Linked DNA regions of Homo sapiens: regions 2 and 3 are each linked to region 1. Evidence: promoter capture Hi-C in 16 types of primary human blood cells and fetal thymus (Javierre and others, 2016). All regions are on one chromosome and are shown on one strand. Each heading gives the region's core, a stretch centred on a gene start or on the middle of the fragment in contact. The rest is flanking DNA. Distances are from core to core; before and after follow the strand shown.

Region 1 (4,614 bases), core at 1,197-3,696:
CAGGTCACATGTAGACTCTGTGGTATAAGATTTGGGAAGAATTTAGCCATAAGAAGGAAAGCAATAAGGATACATGCTACTACATGAATGAACTTTTGAAACATTATACTAAGTGAAAGAAGCCAGACACAAAAGGCCACATATTGTATGATTCCATTTATATGAAATGTCCAGAACAGGCAAATCCACAGAGACAGAAAGCAGATTCATGGTTGCCAGGGCTGTGAGGGGTGGGAGAAAATGAGGAGTGATGGCTAATGGGTACGGGGTTTCTTTCTGGGGTGACAAAACAGTTCTGAAATCGGTGGCGATGGCTGCACAGTGCTGTGAATGTACCAAAAACCACTGAATCATACACTAAAGAATACATTTTGTGGAATGCAAGTTACATTTCAATTTTTTTTAAGATGATTTAAATTCTGCTTTCTCAAGACACAGAGACCAGAACAGGTCATTTGAGTTTATGAGAAGACCAAGTAACGATGAAACTTATCAGAACAAGCACCAAACTCATTCAATTCTAAGTGCTGATGGCTTCTCTGAAAACTTGAGAGGGTGATAGTGTCCACCACGGAACTCACGGGAGATTTCCACCATTCAACCTTGAATTGCTATTCATAGAGTGTCTACTATGCATGTACAATGTGCTGCTACATGTCGGAGATGCAGCAGTGACTGAGACAGACAGGGGGCCCATGGAAAAGAGACACTTAGGAAAAACTTGCACAAATAATTGCCCAATTAACATTATGCTGTAAAGGAAAATTACAGTGATTTCAGGGTTTATAAAATGAACATAATATTTTTGGGGGAGCAGGAGGAACCTCCCTGAGGAGTTAGCATTGAAGCCAAACCTGGAAGGCTGGGGGAAGAAGCATCCAGGTAAAGTAGAAGGCAGAGGAGCTAAGCAAGGAGAGAGAGAGAGAGCACCAGAAGGGCAGAGAGCCAGCAGGGAGAACAGGTGCCTCCCTATGTCACCAGCCACAGAGATCTTTCCTGAACCCATCAAGCAGAGATTCAGGCTTCTAACGCCAGTACATCTGGCTTGTGCTGGAGATGGGTGCCTTCCAGAATATTCATGTCCTGAGATTTTAAAAAGTGTGTCTAATACAATTGTTTATTCATTCATTCAACAAATATTTATTGAGATCTGCAACACGCCAGGCACTGGGGATACACAAGCGAACACAGAGTGTCCCTGTCCTCCCGGGGCTCACATTCTAGAGGGGGAGACAGTCAACAGGTGAACAGACAGTCAACAGGTGGAAAGAAGGTAACCTCAGAGGTGATGGCCCCTGAGAAGTCTGGGGCTGGGTGGTCTTTACACAAGGTGCTGGGCAAGGCCTGTTTGAGACAAGCAGAGGAAGAAGCCCGCCAGGCCCAGGCTTGAGAAAAGGACCCGGGGGGAGGGAAGCTGCGGGGGGGGCGGGGGGAGGGGGAGGCTGGGAGAAGAAAGGCTGGGGGCAGTAGTGAGAAAGCAAGAGGAAAGAGCAAGCTGCAGAGTGGGTTCTGAGTGCTCGGCAGGGGCCTCGCGGGCCATGCAGCCGACTTAATTTAGAACTGCATTTAGTTGTCAAGTGATGGGAAGCCCTTGGAGCAGGGAAATGACACATTTAATTTAAGCTTCACAAAGCTAAGCTGGGGGTGGGGGGGGGTTGGCAAGTTGAGGGGGGTGTAAGTTGCGTGGGGGTGGGGACCAAGAATGCAATTGTAAGTACTAAGGAGAAGACAAATGGGGTGTCCCAGAACAGAAATACAAGCAAAAGGAAACATGACTGAAGTACAGCGTGCTCCAATCCAGGCTGACCCTGTCCAAGTCCCAAAGTTAACAGCGCCCACTTTGGAGGCAGGCTGACCTGGGCTTAAATCTAGGCTTACCAACCGTGTGACCTTGGGCAGGTGACTTCGCCTCTGAGCGCCTCAGTCTCCTCGTCTGAACGATGGGTTAACAATAGCGCCTACCTGAAAGGGCTGTGGCTGCCATCACGTTTGTGGGGCCCAGCTGTGCGCGGTGGGCGCCCAGCAGCTGCTGCGGCTGTGAGTAATTTGTTACTAAGAATAGTTAGCGCCCCTCTCGGGGCCGCCGACTCCCAGCGGCCGCGCGCACTAGGCGAGGCCGGACCCCCGGCCTGGACGCCGGCTTAGACGCTGTCCCCAGGCCCCCAGTCCCAGCACCCCAGCCAGGCCCCGCCCCCAGCCCCGCTCACCTGGGCCGCGGCGGCCCGGGGATGTGCTCGTAGCGGCTGCGAGCGCGGTGCACGAAGGTGCAGCAGAGGCCGAAGGCGAGCAGGACGGCGCTGCCGAGCAGCAGCAGCCCGGGGCTCATGGCTCCGGGGCAGGGCAGGCCAGGCCAGGGTCGGGCCGGGCGCCGAGGGGGCCGGGAGGCCGCGAGCCGACTCAGCTGTCAGCGCCGCGCGCCGCCTCGGCCCCAGGCCAGGCGCGACCCAGCACCCTCCCCGCCCGCTCGGCTCCGCCCCCGCCGACTCCGACCCCTCCCAGGGCGCACAGTCCCCGCCAACCACGTCTCCGCCTCCGGCTCCGGCGCTCCGGGCCCTCCCCCGCCCCGCCCCGCCCCCCAGAGCTCCGCCCCAACCTCCACACCGCCCCAGCCCAGGCCCCACCCCGAGCATGTGGTCTTCACCAATCACAACTCCGCTTCTGGCTCAGCCCCCCAGGCTCCGCCCCCACCTCTTCAGACTCAGGTCCGCCCCAGCAGCAGCTCCGCCCAGAACGCGTTGTCCCTGGCAACGCCGATCCTCAGCGCTCTGGCCCGGCGGCGGCGCGAAGTCCTGCTGGCTGGCTCCGCCCGCTTCGGCGCCTCCAAATAACGGCATCTTTCCGCGCGCGGTCTTAGGCCCCTTCCTTTTTCCCCCAAACCTGCCCGGAAACCCCATCCCAGCCTGCAAAAGTCCGCATAACGCCGACTGTTCCCAAACTTCTCCTTGGAACCCCAGACCCCCAAAGTTGTTCTCCAGTTGCCCCGGGGCGCCTCCTCCGCCCGGACAGTCCACGCCTAGCGCCCGTGGTCCGCCAGCGGGGCCCGCGGGCTGGTGGCAGGATCCTGCGGGACCCAGGGACGCCTGTGTCTGCGACCGAGAGCGCACGGCGTGGCCGGAGGCTGTTCTCCCAGAGACTCGGGGGCCTGCGGACCCTCCTAGACCAGGCGAAGCCCCATCTGAGGCGCTGGCTCAGGCCCGAAGGAGTTGGAGTTGGAGGGATGAAAATCTGGGTCCGCCCTCCAGGGAAAGCGGGAAATGTGCCGGGGAGGCGGGGGTAGCGGAGGAGAAGGTATTTTCGAAATAATGACCAGGGCTTCCCCCTCTGTCGTAACCCGCGTCTCCTTGCCCATCCCGTATGAAGATGAGGCCAATTCTGGGCGTTTTAGTTCCCAATTCCTATCCCGAGGGACCACCCAGCGTGAAAGTCGTGGCAGGGGAAGGCCAGGTGTGCCCACTCCTAGCCCAGGTAAAGGTCCCCCGGGCTGGAGGTAGAGGCCCAGGGAGTGTAGATGCTGCTGGGTTTCTGAGAAGAGGCAATGCCCCTGCCCCACGCTTGAGCCAGTCCTGGAGAGGTTGGGGGTTGGAAAACGAAGGGGACCTTGGTACCGCCTTCCCAGGTATAGTTAGGGACATGGGACATGGCTGTTAGGGGTGTGGGCTGAGGGGCGACGGAGACGGCCAAGTCTTAAGAGCCGTGCCCAGCACGGAGGAGGCGGGACTTCTGCCCTCGGGGCCACCGCAGCCTGGACAGGTGGGCAGCAGAGCATCCATCCCCCCGGCGCCTGGCCCGGCCGCCCAGTTGGACTCGGGGATGTTGGCTTGCTATGGCGCCCCCGTGTGGCGGCGGTGACAGGCAGCCGCAGGCCCACAGGGTAACTCAGGCTGGCCCTGCTGGGGTGAGGTGTGGAACGGAGCCACCAGGTCCCCTGTGGGCTGTGAAAGCTCCGGGGCTTGAGGGCAATTTGGAGGGAGGATGAGGCTGCAAGAAGGAGGGTGTGGATTCCTGCGCACTGGAAGGTGGGTTGGGGTGGTTAGCTAGAAAAGAAATGTGACGGCATCACATTTAGTATCCAGTTTGTGGAACGGCTCCCTGAGATTACACAGTGCATCGCACTGTCTGAAGAGGACTTTCTCTTGCCTTGTCTCTCCAGACCCCTGGAACAATGGTACTGTTAGCAACAGCAAATCCATATGGGTCTGCAGCAGCCTCAGTTCTTGCCTCCTCAGAAGAAAGAATTCGACTGAGGGGCGTAAGGCAGAGTGAGAGGCAAGTTTTAGAGCAGGAGTGAAAATGTATTTAAAAGTTTTAGAGGCCGGGCGCAGTGGCTCACGCCTGTAATCCCAGCACTTTGGGAGGCCGAGGCGGGCGGATCACGAGGTCAGGAGATCGAGACCATCCTGGCTAACACGGAGAAACCCCATCTCTACTAAAAATACAAAAAATTAGCTGGGCGTGGTGGCGGGCGCCTGTAGTCCCAGCTACTGGGGAGGCTGAGGCAGGAGAATGGCGTGAACCCGGGAGGCGGAGCTTGCAGTGAGCCGAGATTGCGCCACTGCACTCCAGCCTGGGTGACAGAGCGAGACTCCGTCTCAGAAAAAAAAAAAAAAAAAAAAA
Region 2 (4,614 bases), core at 1,021-3,520, 280 kb before region 1:
CACGCAGGAAGGGGAGGGGCCAGGCTCCTCCCTGCTGCAAACCTTGTGAACTTCCCGAGGCTCCCCCTCAGTGGGCAGGCTGGCTGGAGTTTCTCCAGGGACCTGCTCCCACCTGGCTGTGTCACAGGGCTGGGCGGGAGCAGGCCTGCTGTTCTGCAGCCAAGTCTGAGTGTTCCCACTTTATGGGAACTTAATGTCTCCACTTAATTGAAGAAGAAAACTAAGCCAAGTACATGCCTGGGACAACCAGCCAGCCATCCTAGAGAGGCCTAAGGGTCCCCCTGGAGCCCGTGCCCCTTCCCAGGAGCCCTGAGGCCACTGGGAAGGGAAGCCCCATCCAGCTCACACCTAGGAAAGCCAAAATCTCTCCTCACTCCCAGCTAGTCATCGGGTCCCAGCTTGGGGGCCCGTTCACCATCAGCTTTGGGGAAGAAACTTCCCGCTCACTTCTCCTGCCTGCTGTCTCGCAATTACCGTGGGGACTGTGGCAGCCAGGCCTTTGTGGGAGCCGCCGGCACTTCATTCGCAAGGAGGCCGGGAGGCCCGGGCATCCGAATGCGAGCAGACGTGTCAGGGGTCGGGGTGTTGGGAAGTTTAAAGGCTGCAGCCTCCCCACCCAGGGAGGCACGGTCTTCCCGCCAGGCTGCGCAGTCAGAATGTGGCATGTCTAAAGGAGGGAATCGTAGAGAAGTGATGAGGAGAGTCAAGAAGATCTTGCCTAAGAGCAATTGGAAAACAAACAAAAAAATCTTGAGAATAGAAAATACATTATTTCAAAATTAAGAAATTAATTAGAGGCAGTGAAAAACAAAAGACACTCCTGCAGAACAAGGGTCAGTACACTTTCTGCAAAGGACCAGCTGGTAAATAGTTTTGGCTTTTTCAAAGCCATGTGGTCTGTCACAACTGTGGCAGGCCAATTCTCCCTGACAATCACACAGACGGGCCTGTATGACAGTCGACAGACAGGCCTGCACAGCACCCCAGTTACACAGATTTCCACAGCGCTGCCTTAACACTGAGCAAATAGTTAAACCTAGGGCAATCGGTGCCCAGACATCAAAGCTACAAATAAAGCATACGGTCAGTAGAAGCCTTGCATGGGCTTCTCCCTAACCTGGAGCAAGTCAAAATAATAGAATCTAACATTCCTAGTGCCAGGACCTGCCTCGGGTCGACAAAATCTGAGACGAGTCAAGGTAACAGAGGCAGCTGTTTGAATAGATTCATCAGAGAGTCTAAGGCAGCACTCCAGACCAAGCTGTAAAGGAGATAAGATAGAAATAATCACTCTGGTACCACAGGAGACAGGCCTTGAAGGTACTGGGGCCCACACAGCTTAATCAGACTTAGCTTGTTTTTTTTTTTTTATGTTCCAAATGTGATGGGTTTATTTTATTTTACTCTGATGCAAAATCAAAGATTCCACAATAGCACAGAGACCAATATATTACAGAGTCATGAAAAAAATGGTGTGAACATGCAGGACACGAGGTACAAACTGGAGGTTCAGATCGTCTCCTCTAACATGACACCACACTGTCGCCGAGGAACACATTTAATAACACTGCAGAACTGAACCGAAACGTGGCACAAACAGGACAGCTTCCAGGCATGCTTTCCAGCGCCTCCCCTCAGGAGGGACTCACAACCCCTAGACTTCAGTGTGGGGAGGATTACAATTTTTTGGAAGAGTAAAAAGTTCACACTTTTGAAATTTCACAGAAGGATTGTAGGGCCAAAACATGGTGGGTTCATTTCTCTTCACTTCCAGGGACAAATCTGATGCTTTCCTCAAACCACATTAAGCTTGCAGTTCAAACGCCAAGCCAACCTTGTGACCTCCTGCACTGAAGTTGTTTCCATCGATTAAAGCTGATAAAGGGTCAATTTGACTCCGGGTCGAAGGGTCTGAGTATAACCCAGTCCAATCAGGCTGGCATTATTTACTTTAGCAGAGAGAGAAGTTCTACAATCCAGCTTGTACTTAGTAGCAATGCCAAAATGGGTGTTGTTACTCCAGCCGTCCAAGCAAGGTTTATTGACATTTCAATCCCATTAACCTTCTGGTAGATAGAACCTCCAAATTCAGTGCCATCGGTCACATGTGTGTGCAGCTGGAAGTCTGCAGCCTCGTAACCCAGGGCGAAATTATTCTGTGACAATTTGGATTTGGCTGTGTCAAAACTCATCTGATAGCCGGCAAGCCACCCTTCAAAGACCAACACAGCCCAGCCATAGATGGTTGGTCCGGAAAAATCTAGATCAACATTACTGCCAACACTAAAACAATCCCATTTATAGGAGGCCTTCAATTCCCCACTCTTCTTTCCTGTGTTTGGTACCAATATGGTATCAAGACTCAGTTTCAACCCTTTAGCCAACTTATTCTCCAAAGAGATTTCTGTCCCAAGAGTATTGTCTGTGTTCCGTTTTTGAGTGAAGGTAAGTCCATAGTTACAGACCTTACATTCGGGTTCTAGGTTGCCTGATGCTTTCCCTGTATCAGTGTAAGCATGACCAGAAGTAGAAAATTCCACTGCACTACAGGACTTGGTTTTCAGGTCTATCTTCCCCATGCCAAAGCCATATCCTTTGTTGAAGACATCCTCAGCAGCCTTTCCCAGGTCACAGTAAGTTGGTGTGTTACACATATCTTAGAAAAATCTTTCTCAGGTTCTTATGAAATCAAAGACCTCCACCCCCAAGGGCCTGTCTCCCACAAGCTTTTTTTTGCCTCTGACCTTCTAGTTGAAACAAAATTAGTTACCAATAGACTTAGGCGAATGTTGTGCTGCACGTAGGCACATAACTCCAACCTGTATAAGCAATTCTAACACTTTGAGTTGGTCTGGTGGAATTATCTCTGGCCTTCTGCCTGTATCCGGTTACAGCAATAAATTCCCTTTTTTTTTTTTTTTTTGGGACGGAGTCTCACTCTGTCGCCCAGGCTGGAGTGCAGTGGTGCAATCTCTGCTCGCTGCAACTCCGCCTCCAGAGTTCACGCCATTCTCCTGCCTCAGCCTCCCAAGTAGCTGGGACTACAGGCACCCGCCACCACGCTAGGCTAATTTTTTTTTTTTTTTTTTTTTTTTTTTTTGTATTTTTAGTAGAGACGTGGTTTCACCATGTTAGCCAGGATGGTCTCGATCTCCTGACCTGGTGATCCGCCCGCCTCGGCCTCCCAAAGTGCTGGGATTACAGGCATGAGCCACCGCACCTGGCCAATTCCCTTCTTCGCTAGTTTGTCTGCTTCTCATTATTGGGACTCAAGAAGAGGCAGCTGGACCTGACTTGCTTCCGGGAACACAACTACTTCCCTTGGCCTTTGACTTGAAGACAGCCATAGACCATATGTGAGTGGATGTCACTGTGTTCCAAGAGAACTTTAGTGACAAAAACAGGTAAAACCATTTTTATTTTCAGATGACATTATCTTACCTATAGAAATTCCTAAGGAACCCACTCAAAAACTATCAGAACTAATAAACAAGTTCTGCAAGGTCCAAGCATATAAGATAAACATATAAACATCAATTGTATTTCGATAGACTTGCTATGAAGAATCTGAAAATGAAGTTAAGAAAACAATTCTATTTACATGACATCAAAACAATAAAATACTTATGAATGAATTTAACAAAAAAAGTGTAAGACTTGTACACTGAAAACTATGAAACGACTCCGAAAGAAATTAAAGAAAACCTATAAACGGAAAGATATCCATTTATGGGTTGAAAGAGCTAATATTATTAAAATGGCAAGAGAGCCCAAATTGACCTACAGATTCGATGCAATTCCTGTCAAAATCCCAGCTGCTTCCACTTTTATTTTGTGCAGAAATTAGAAAGCTGATCCTAAAATTCATCTGGAAATGCAAGGGACCATAGAATAGCCAGAAGAGTCTTGAAAAAGAATAAGTACAGGTATATACATTGATGGAATAAAATAGACAGTCCAGGCAGGGAGTGGTGGCTCACACCTGTAATCCCAGCACTTTGGGAGGCTGAGGCAGGTGGATCACCTGAGGTCAGGAGTTCGAGACCAGCCTGGCCAACATGGTGAAACCCCATCTCTACCAAAAATACAAAAAATTAGCCGGGTGTGGTGGCATGCGCCTGTAGTCCCAGCTATTCGGGAGACTGAGGGCGGGAGAATCGCTTGAACCCAGGAGGCGGAGGTTGCAGTGAGTCAAGATCACGCCACTGCACTCTAGCCTGGGCCACAGAGCAAGACTCCATCTCAAAGAAAAAAAAATAGGATAGAGAGTTGAGAAATAAACCCTTAACTTTACAGTCAATTGATTATCAACAGGGGCGCCAAGTTAAAGAACAGGCTTTAATAAATGGTGTTGAAACAACTAGATACCCACATGCAAAAGACTAAAGTTGAAACCTTATTTACATCATTCATAAACTTTATCTCAAAATGGATCACAGACCTTCATATAAGAGCTAAAACTATAAAACTCTTAGAAGAAAACATACATGCAATCTTCATAACCTTGAGTTTGGCGGAGGCTTTTTAGATATGACACCAAAAGCAGAAGTGACCAAAGAAAAAATAAATAAATTGGACCACATTAGTATTAAACACTTTTGCTGCAAATGATAC
Region 3 (4,614 bases), core at 788-3,287, 260 kb before region 1:
TGCCTGTCTTGGGGAAGTTATTTCCTTCTCCAAGCCTCAGTGTATCTATCAAATAGCCCTGCTTTCCCTGCAGGCTGTCACAAGCCTACAAAATCCCCCAAACAAACACCCGCAGAATGACAGATGGCCTCCCTGCCCTGGTAGTGTCACTCTTCAAATCAACTTCCCAGGCCCTGGAGGCAGGCGGCAGCAGGCTGTCAGCCTTCAGAGTCCCCAGAGTGAGACAGGGTCTCATTTTGTCACCCAGGCTGGAGTGCAGTGGTCTGCTCCAGGCTCACTGCAACCTCGACCTCCCAGGCTCAAGCAATCCTCCCACCTCAGCCTCCAGGAGTAGCTGGGATTACAGGCACATACCACTATACTCGGCTACTTTTTAAAATTTTTGGTAGAGATGGGGTCCTGCTGTGTTGCCCAGGCTGGTTGTGAACTCCTGGGCTCAAGTGATCCTCCCACCTCAGCCTCCCAAAGTGCTGGGATTACAGGCTGGGCCACTGTGCCTGGCCTCTTTTATAATTTTCTTAACATTTTATCTTCTCTAGCTTACTTTATTGCAAGCGTGTACTATATAATACATATTGACAAAATATGTGGAAATTGTTCTCAGTGAGGCATCCAGTCAACAGTAGGCTATCAGTAGTTAGGTTTTTGGAAAGTAAAAAGTTATACATAGATCTTTGACTGCGTGTGGGGTCAGCACCCCTAACCCCTGTGTTGTTCAAGGGTCAACTGTGCTCTTTTGCAAGCTTTGAAGCATGTGAACGCCAGCACCTACCCTGTTCTTGAGGAAATCCAGCGTTCCCTTGATACTTGACCTTATCTAAACAGGACTGCCACGGAGACTTTACTCTGCAAAAGCAACAATTTCATCTTCACAAAGTTTCAAATGGTAAATAAAAAAAAATCCCCTGAGGGCTTTTTGTTCACTGGAAAATTCTCTCATGCTAACAAACTTAATTATTGTAACTACAAATAAATCGTAATCTTTCCTTTCCTTTCATCTTTCCTCATCTTACGTGCTGCAGGGAAGCTGGGCTAAGAGCTGCGCGGTTCCTGAGCCTCTCGTTCCGGGAGAATCTTGGAGGTTCAAGGCCTTGCTTGCCTGAGAGGTGCTGAGCAGTGGCACAGGGTCATTGCTCGCTGTGTTAACGCGTGAGTGAGTGAACAGTGAACACCTGCAAGGTTAATACTGCACTGGTTAAAGAATTTCAATTAAAATGAAATGAAGCCATTTTAAATCCATCAAATTCATTCATTCATTCATAATAAAGTGATTAATCATTATAAAGAGAGCAATAGTAGTTTACATATATATATAACAGTACATTTATCTAAAATAGTAGATGTGTGTGTGTTTGTATCCTTTGTCCATTATTGAGCTTGGCAAACAGGAGTACATAGAAATAAAAGCAGACCTTACTGACATGTAAGTCAATAATGAATGCCTTTTCCTTCCCTCATCTTATCATTCTCTCCATTGTTAATTTAAAAACAATTGCTTTTGCCAGTATTCACAAAACCACGTAAACTGACAATTGAGTATGGTAATTAGGCCAAATCCTTTATGGTTATCTCCCCTGATGAATGCTTCCACGCCATCTGCAAACTACAGTCTCATCTGCAAACTACAGTCTCATCTGCAAATGGCCCAGGTGAGAATAAAATCTGCATATGAAACAGAATATAGTGTGAATCATATCTAATTTTAAATATTTTAATTTATATGCTTTCATGAATATAGGTCAATAAGAAATCCACTTTTCAGATTTTATTTCATTATAGAATATATTTGACAAGGATACATACAAACAGATTCATCTTCAATAATACATGGTGTTTACTGGTGCCCTGCACTTCTGCAGTAGGCTGGTGATGTCATCAAAAATGTTTTTGAAAGTTGCACTTCATCAGTCACTCTAAACAACCAGTGCCATAGAGCTCAGATAATTCCATTCATTTACTTGCCTTGAATGAGTAAAAATCTTAATATTTGCTTTAAAGTCTGTTTATTACTCTTCTATTTAAAAATTTGAGATACATTCCCCAATGTAAACAATAAATTTCAATCTGTCACACAATCGAAATGGATAAGGCCTTCTTGACAAATTTCTGCCACCTCCGTTTAACGCATCAGAACTCAATCTTATCTCATACTGTAATGGGTCGCCCATGCACAAAAGACAGGAAAAGCAGCTGCCCTTGGTACCTGGTGGAGCCTTTCGAGACTTCTCTCTGCAGGTTTATGGTACGCTCGAGAGAGATCTTTCTGACTTGGTCTACTTGGTCATAAAATACAAATATACAATGTCCATAAGCATAAGACAGTAAAGCCTAGTCTTACATATTTATTATGAATTGCTAGAATCCTATACAAGTACAATATCATCTCATGCCAAGTAATATACACAAGAAGGTGGCAAAATGTCTCACCGTGAATCAGGGCGTGTGAACAAGGGATGGGGGATGCAAGCCAGGTGGGTGTGAAGAGGCTGACCGCATCTGGTTAGGCAGGACGGTGTCACTGAAACTTGGAAACGCCTGTGTACCCTGCTGAAATATTGAAGTCAGTTAGGAGTAGAGTCTGCTTAGCACAAGAGGGATACAAGCCCTCTCTCACAGCCTCCCCAAGGGAGAATGCAATGAAACTTTGGAAAATGTAACCAAACACAGTCTCATCTTTGTGTCTCCTGATTCAGCTGTGCAAATCAGTTATTCACTCTTCTGAAGTGATCTGTCCTTTTAGGACCAATTCCTCAACAGCCATCGTGGTTCAGTACCTCATTATCATCATAAATATTTGACTTAGCAAGCTAGATGGTGAAACAGTGAAGATTATATACAATGTTTTAAAAGGCATTCTGTGACCATTTTTGAAGAGTTCATAGAAAAGTTACTAAGAATATACCAGTTACTTCTGTTGATGTGGCTATAATGTAAACGTTGCAACCTTGTTGGTATTCAATGTGCACTGTGTCATATATTGTACAACAAAAGTGAACACGGAACCGCTGATCCGCTGTGGCGCCCGCTGACACGCTAAGCTAAGGTAGCCGGCGGAGGGCACAGTTTTCCTGAGGTTTGTAAGAATTTTTTAAACAAAACAGAAATCACAGTGACCAAGGGTAATGCGAGTCTGTGTCTTCCTTGCCCATGCTGCTCCCCACAGCTCTCGGTGGGTACTAAATGACGCGCCACTGCATGATGCTTGTGTCTTTCCCGCCCGTGGAGATGAGGTGGCTGTCTTCACAGAGGAAATCGACATTGGTGACATGGCTGCTGTGCCCGCCGTAGATGTGGCTTGGAGCCTGGAGGGAATGATACGGGGGAAAGCTTCCTTTACTACAAGGCGAACCATCTGGGATGGGAAAGTGCTTGAATTCTCACTGCATGCCTTAATTCCTTTACTCGCCCTCCGCTCGGCAGCTCTCACTTGGGAACCTGCTCTGTGTGTGACACAGAAGGGACACAGAAACAAAGCCCACAGTCCTCGTGGCCTGGTAGGGGACAGACACGAGCAAATGACCGCCCTCAGCCGAGAGATATGCTCAGTATCAGAGGTGCCAGGTATGAGGTCGCCCCAAAGGTGGGCCTAACCAGATGCCCGGGGCTGAGGGTGAGGGGTCTCCAGGGTCAGGATCACGGAGGATGAAGAAGGGCGTCCCAGGGCTCAGGGCTGGCGCGGCTGAGCAGGGCCGGAGCAAGGGAGCCGTGGGGGAGGGCGGGGTCGTGAGCCTGTGGGGCTGCAGAGGTGGATGAGCAGCTCTGAACGGCTTTGTGGGTCCTGTGGGGCTTGGGGTTTCCCTAAGGGCGGCTGGAAGTGCTCAGGGCGCAAAGAACAGAGTCACATCTGCCTTTGTGGCTGGCAGCAGTCGCTCACAGCCCATTTCCACTTAGTCTCCAAACAGGTCGGGTGTACGTGCATGCCCCATGGGGGATAAGATTAGTGAAGAAACAAGTCCTTTACCCTGAACTGCGAGCAGGGGTATGAGAAGAGGTGCACTTTGCCAAAGTCGTCGCCTGTTGACAGGAGTTTCTTCTCATGGGCCCGACAGACGGCATTGATGTCGGTTCCGTCCGAGCCTTCTGGCCACACTCCTAAAACAAAGACCACAAACAGGGCGCTGGAAACACCAGGGGCCACAGGGCCACATGGCGCAGGAAGCGCCCACTGAACGGTCCTGAACATGAAACTGCCTGAAGTCCAGCTTTAGAAACAAGGGTCAAAAAAGCACAATAGCCTCAGTTCCTGGCCTCTCGCTGTGCGCCCAGTCTCCTCTCACTCAGGCCAGTCTCGGAGACCCTCTGATGCTCTGCTGTGCAAGGGGAGCAAAGACAAGCTTTCCGGGCTGCCAGGTCTTTTGAGGCCTCATCTTGAGGCCAAGGCAGACAGTACCAGGAACCCCAGTTCCAAAGTGACACCTCTCCTTGATCTCTGAAGCATCTTGTGGGAAGCTGCCCTGTCCTCAAGCCTGCAGTTTCCTTGTTATTGCTGTAACTCTACATGGGTGGGTCTCTCCAAAGGCCTTTTAACCCTGGGTGTGCGCATGTTTCTTGGGGTCACTCACTGTGGCTGTTGCTTGCTTGGGGCAGCCTGGCAGCTGTGCCCATCATTACTGG

What was found. Contacts are between HindIII fragments. The CHiCAGO score rates a contact against its expected background, and 5 or more counts as called.
Region 2: a fragment that was not itself captured here is called in contact with the fragment with the promoter of CYP46A1 in region 1 in 1 of 17 cell types (endothelial precursors); the score reaches 5.9 in endothelial precursors.
Region 3: a contact is called between a fragment that was not itself captured here and the fragment with the promoter of CYP46A1 in region 1, in 1 of 17 cell types (endothelial precursors). The highest score is 9.1, in endothelial precursors.

Annotation. Positions count from the first base shown.
Region 1 is chr14:99,682,130-99,686,743 of GRCh38, reverse strand. CYP46A1 (cytochrome P450 family 46 subfamily A member 1) reads right to left here and starts at 2,446. Exons shown (of 15, transcript NM_006668.2): 1 at 2,208-2,446. The coding sequence starts at 2,326. RefSeq lists a silencer at 2,062-2,641 and an enhancer at 3,882-3,951. The HindIII fragment of the contact is 4,802 bases long and covers 1,626-4,614 here.
Region 2 is chr14:99,962,569-99,967,182 of GRCh38, reverse strand. It overlaps the pseudogene VDAC3P1. Among named protein-coding and RNA genes, the nearest start is that of EVL, 100 kb to the left of the region's middle. The HindIII fragment of the contact is 917 bases long and covers 1,812-2,728 here.
Region 3 is chr14:99,938,675-99,943,288 of GRCh38, reverse strand. EML1 (EMAP like 1) reads right to left here. Exons shown (of 22, transcript NM_004434.3): 21 at 3,962-4,092; 22 at 1,229-3,302. The coding sequence ends at 3,177. It overlaps LOC102724682 (a long non-coding RNA gene), which reads left to right. Exons shown (of 6, transcript XR_007064328.1): 5 at 826-886; 6 at 1,023-1,285. Among named protein-coding and RNA genes, the nearest start is that of EVL, 120 kb to the left of the region's middle. RefSeq lists an enhancer at 3,032-4,231. The HindIII fragment of the contact is 2,584 bases long and covers 746-3,329 here.